Linked DNA regions of Homo sapiens: region 1 is linked to region 2. Evidence: promoter capture Hi-C in human tissues and cell types (Jung and others, 2019). All regions are on one chromosome and are shown on one strand. Each heading gives the region's core, a stretch centred on a gene start or on the middle of the fragment in contact. The rest is flanking DNA. Distances are from core to core; before and after follow the strand shown.

The links. The method cuts DNA at HindIII sites, captures the fragments that hold promoters and counts their contacts. A contact is called where the count stands out against the background at its distance.
Region 1: a contact is called between a fragment that was not itself captured here and the fragment with the promoter of SKA3 in region 2, in 1 of the 25 tissues and cell types used here (spleen).

Annotation. Positions count from the first base shown.
Region 1 is chr13:20,785,002-20,787,701 of GRCh38, reverse strand. It overlaps XPO4 (exportin 4), which reads left to right. Exons shown (of 23, transcript NM_022459.5): 21 at 104-221; 22 at 645-737. Among named protein-coding and RNA genes, the nearest start is that of EEF1AKMT1, 12 kb to the right of the region's middle. The HindIII fragment of the contact is 3,118 bases long and covers 1-2,700 here.
Region 2 is chr13:21,175,133-21,177,832 of GRCh38, reverse strand. SKA3 (spindle and kinetochore associated complex subunit 3) reads left to right here and starts at 1,281. Exons shown (of 9, transcript NM_145061.6): 1 at 1,281-1,458. The coding sequence starts at 1,356. MRPL57 (mitochondrial ribosomal protein L57) reads right to left here and starts at 1,175. Exons shown (of 2, transcript NM_024026.5): 1 at 1,116-1,175; 2 at 1-921. The coding sequence starts at 916. The coding sequence ends at 608. RefSeq lists enhancers at 706-1,025, 1,041-1,763, 2,486-2,700. The HindIII fragment of the contact is 23,400 bases long and covers 1-2,700 here.

The DNA.
Region 1 (2,700 bases), core at 163-2,662, 390 kb after region 2:
TCATTTCTAGAAACACTCATCCATTTAATACTAGCTATAATTTTTTTATCTTTTATAAATCGAATATATCCAATCTAGTTTGTTCTTTGACCTTCATGATCAGAATGAGTTCGGAGGTTTGCCAGCTTTGCCTGGAGGCCTTGACACCGTTAGCTGAACAGTGTGCAAAAGCACAAGAAACAGACTCACCACTTTTTCTAGCAACACGGCACTTTCTTAAGGTAAGATGTCTGTGCGGTAGGTCAGAAAATCAGCTACTTTCAAAAGTGTGGTCGGTGCACATAATTCTGCATTCAAATGAGGAAATGCTTCCATTCTTTCGGGGGCAAGGAAACCATGACTTCCTGTTCACTGTTTTTTTCTGGAGATCAGCTCTTCATGGACACATTCTCATCCTCTATTTTTTGTGTTCTTGGAAATTGATGTGGTACACATTGAGGGAATTTGATATTGTTGATTATTCAGATACCACAGCAAGTAGCAATATCTGTAAGGTATTTTTTTTAAAACATTAAGGAAAATTTCAGATTGATTTAATAAATAGAATAACAACCAACCCTCTCTTCTTCTTTTTTGGACTGGGGAGGGACTGGAGGATATATGATCATCCTATGTTTTTATTTAGAAGTCTTATGTAATTTCAGCTGGTTTTTGATATGCTGGTTTTGCAAAAGCACAACACAGAGATGACCACTGCGGCTGGCGAAGCTTTCTACACGTTGGTGTGTTTGCACCAGGTACTGGACATGCCTCTTTTCAGGGGACTCTTCTCATTCTATTTTGCAAAGAGATTGTTGAGATAGATGGTGGGTCATTAATCCCCCCTTATAGGATCTGTGACTCAGTGCTTCAGTTCTGTTTCAGTGAGGAAGTATTTCTTAGCTTCTTTATTAGCTTTCACATGTCAGTTTGTGTTTATCTGACAGCTGTTTGTCAGTTCAAAGCATTTATTTTTTGTCCTCCACCATTATGAACCATCCTTTGCAATGGTCACTGCCCCAAAGCCTGTCCTTAAACAACTGTGCTAGGAATGAGGAATACATAATGGGTGTGTGAAGAACTCATGGTTTTTTGTAAGGGAGACAGGATGGCAGACAAGGAAGAGTCTGCCTTCAGACAGTATGGAAGACAGTATTTTATTGCATATTATAGAAAACAGTATATTATTTCATTTTGTTGATCTTTTAAAGATTCTGAAGCATCACTGATAATGGGGTTAATAGAAGAGTTAGGCTAGCTTACCTGTCTCCCCACTTCTGATCGAATAGGTGCCTGTGAAATTTATGAAAAGGACCGTATTGAACAGTTTGCTGCCTCTGTTTCCCCTTTTCCTCTCCCATGCATATATATACACACATATATATGTAAGGTACATATATATATATATATATATACACACACACGTATATATATATATACCTCCCAGCATGGCCAAGAAGCTTTGGCGTTTTATTTCCATCTTTAAAAAAGGGTTTAGAGGAGGTCTTCCATACTATTTAAAGACCTCCTTTCTCTAGACTTCCCGTAACATCTGTGCCCTAAGCTGAAGGTGCCCTGGGGCTTCATTTCTTGCTCTCTGCCCTAGGCTGCCACTTCCTGCAGGTGGTACCTGCTCTCAAATCTGTGCCCTTTCTCTGTCATTTGTCTTACTTGTTGCTTACTAGCAAGGTAGTCGTCTTGTCTGATCCTTCCTTCCTTCCTTCCTTCCTTCCTTCCTTCCTTCCTCTCTTTTTCTTTTCTTTTTTCTATCTTTTTCTTTCATTTTTCTTTTCTTTCCTTTCTTCCTTCCTTCCTCCCTCCTCTTTCTTTCTTTCTCCCTCCCTCCCTCCCTCCTTTCCTCCCCCGTTCCCTTCCACCCTCTTGTCTCTTCCTCCCTTCCTTTCTTCCTTCCTTCCTTCTCTTCCTTTATTTCTCTCTCTCCCTCTCTTTTAACATATTTACACACTGCAGGAAAGAGCAGGTTTCAGGAATGGCCAGTATGATACTTGCTGCCTGGCCCCAGAGGCTCTACTATCTCGCTTTTTTTTTTTTTCTGAGACAGGGTCTCACTTTATTATTACCCAGGCTGGAGTGCAGTGGTGCAATTACTGCTAACTCCTGCCTCGGCCTCCTGGCCTCAAGCAATCCTCCCGCCTCAGCTCCCCAAGTAGCTGGGACTACAGGTGTGCACCACCACACCTGGCTTATTTTTTGTAGAGACGGAGTTTCACCATGTTGCCCAGGCTTGTATCGAACTCCTGAACTTAAGCAATCCACTCGCCTCGGCCTCCCAAAGTGCCTAGGATTACAGGTGTGAGCCACCATGCCTTGCCACCTCTACCATTTCTCATGAGTAGGGAAATGATAGGAGATTATACTTGGTCCCCTGTGAACAGGACTGTCCCTTTGATAAGGCAATTAGGGGAGCCACTCTGGCTCCATGGTTGGGGATTGGGATGCTGCACCTTATCCTTCTTTTCCAAATGTAATTAACATTTGGTTTCACCATTTTGGTCTATCATGATATCCCAAGAAGCCAATGAAAAATTACAGCATGCCAGGTGCAGTGGCTCATGCTTGTAATTTTTGCACTTTGGGAGACCAAGGTGGGTGGATTGATTGAGGCTGGGAGCTTGAGACCAGCCTGCTCAACATTGCAGAACCCTGTCCCTACTAAAAATTCAAAAATTAGCCAGGGATGGTGGTGCATGCCTGTAGTCC
Region 2 (2,700 bases), core at 32-2,531:
CATACCCAGCTAATTTTTTTTGTATTAGTAGAGACGGGTTTTATCACCTTGGCCAAGCTGGTCTTGAACTCCTGACCTCAAGTGATCCGCCCGCCTTGGACTCCTAAAGTGTTGGGATTACAGGCGTGAGCCACCGCACCCGGCCTCTTTTACTTCGCTTAAATGTCCAATTTTAGTAGTAAAATCCCGGAAAATGTTTTTAGGAGTATGTTTAACTGAAAAGCTCATATTTTCTTTCATTTTTGGGCAATTCTTAAGGTAAGCAAACTAATGTTGCATGATAAAGCCCCCATCAAGTATCTCATACTTAAGCAAAGACCTCAAATCATTGTGGCTTTATTGCAGCTTTCCTTCAAAATATCATCTGTGACTGAGGAAATCCCTATCTTCCTATCAGACTAATGAAACCACAGGACAGCAATTAGACTTTTAAGTATTGGGGGTTTAGAGCTCTAGATATTCGATATGCAGACTACTCATGTTTGTTTGTTTTAATAAAGACTGGTCCAAAGGCTCATTTTCACACAAGCTACAGTTTTTCAGTTCCAGGACCAGGTAAAGATGGTCAGCTCCGTGATCCATAAAATCCAAGGGTGACGACTCAGGATTAGGACCATTTCTTGGTGACATTGAGATGGTCGAGCTGGTCCGCAATGAATCTATGCGGGGGGAACTTGGAAGTGGCGGCCGCCTTTATGGCCTCGAAGGCCTCCCTCCTGCGCACCGCGGCGTGGCCGCGCTCCTGCTCCCGGGTCATGTAGGGCATGCTCAGCCAGTAATGGTTCTCCGCCTCGATCTCCAGGCGGCGGATCATGTTCTGCTTGGCGCGCAACGACACGAACCGCGGCCGCCGGTGCTTCCCGATCCACTGACGGCCGGGAATGCGGCCGCGCCAGAGGAGCGCAGTCAGGAACATGGTGCCTGCGGAAGAGAGGGACGGGCTTTGCGGAGGCGAACTGGCGCGGCCGGACCTGGAGAGAGCAGCGGGCGCGCGCTCCAGCTCACGCCTACGGGAGTTCCCGCACCGCCTCCCCTCCAGAGAAGCGGGGAGCCCAGGTAAGGCCAGCAGGCGAAGAAGGAGCTCCCTAGAGAACCGAATTCGCACAGCTACTCACCTGCCGCGCTGCTCAAGACTCTGCGTCTCCGCGGCCGCCAGCAGACGCCGTGGCGTAAGCGCACCCGTCTCGCGGGGTCTCCTGGGGCCTCGGCGAGAGACTTCGGCTCTCGCGAGAGAGGACTGCGCCTGCGCAGAGCCGAGGACGCGTCCGGCGCCGAGATTCAAACTAGTGGCGGGAGGCTGTGAGCTGAGCGGTGGGGTCTGCGTACGCCTGGAGTCCTTCCCCGCTGTGCTCAGCATGGACCCTATCCGGAGCTTCTGCGGGAAGCTGCGGTCTCTGGCCAGCACGCTGGACTGCGAGACGGCCCGGCTGCAGCGAGCGCTGGACGGAGAGGAAAGCGGTGCGTGAGGCGGGCGGCCAGGGCACGGTGCGTGGGGTGCGCCGCGGGCGGAGGGGCGTGGCGAGTGGACGGTATGTCCCACGGGAACCGCCAGGCACTGACGGCGTGGACGGCTGCCACCGAGGCGCAGGGCGGGTGCTGCGCGTCTCACTGCTCGGCGTTTGGCGTTAGCGTAGCTCCCGGGCCTGTTTATGGTTTATTCCTAGGAACCCTTGTCGCGTGTCCGTTTTAGACCCATGTACAACCCCACGGCTCTCTTGAGATAATGAAAGTAGCACTATTACGTTATAAACAGAGACAGCAGCACTTAAGAATAAGAACCTAAATTAACAGATTGAGCTCATAATACATATACTAATTTATACGTGATATGCTTTCGTCACATACAATATGTGTGCTTGTCAGTAAAATACCATGTAAACCTAAACAGTTTCTCTTAGAATCAAGCTATTTAACGTTCTTTACACAATACTTTACACATATAGTGACTTTTTTCTCACTCACGTGGTCCACAGTTGCAGTAAACCTCTGTGTTTTTCCCGCTAAACCATGTTGCCAACACAAACACTAGTACTCAACAGTGCTGGGGTTTAAAAAAATATGTGTATATAAATAAAGCAAAATTCACCATTCCCCTTTTTATTAGAGATTTTTTAAATTGTTGAAAAAGTAGTTCAGATTTTGGAATTATTTCATAAATGTCATAATTGTAATGTGCTTTAAAATATTACACCCTGCAGACTACTTTTACTTTAATTATATAATGAATGATCTCCAGTCACTTGAAAATGTCTATTTCTGCCCGGCGCGGTGGCTCACGCCTGTAATCCTAGCACTTTGGGAGGCTGAGGCGGGCGGATCACAAGGTCAGGAGATCGAGACCATTCTGGCTAACACGGTGAAACCCCGTCTCTACTAAAAATACAAAAAATTAGCCGGGCGTGGTGGCGGGCGCCGGTAGTCCCAGCTACTCGGGAGGCTGAGGTAGGAGAATGGCGTGAACCCGGGAGGCGGAACTTGCAGTGAGCCGAGATCCGCCACTGCACTCCAGCCTCGGCGACAGAGCAAGAGTCCGTCTCAAAAAGAAAAAAAGATTTGGCCGTGCACGGTGGCACACGCCTGTAATCCCAGCATTTTGGGAGGCCGAGGTGGGTGGATCGCCCGAGGTCAGGAGTTCAAGACCAGCCTGGCCAACGTGGTGAAACCTCGTCTCTACTAAAAATACAAAACAATTAGCTGGGC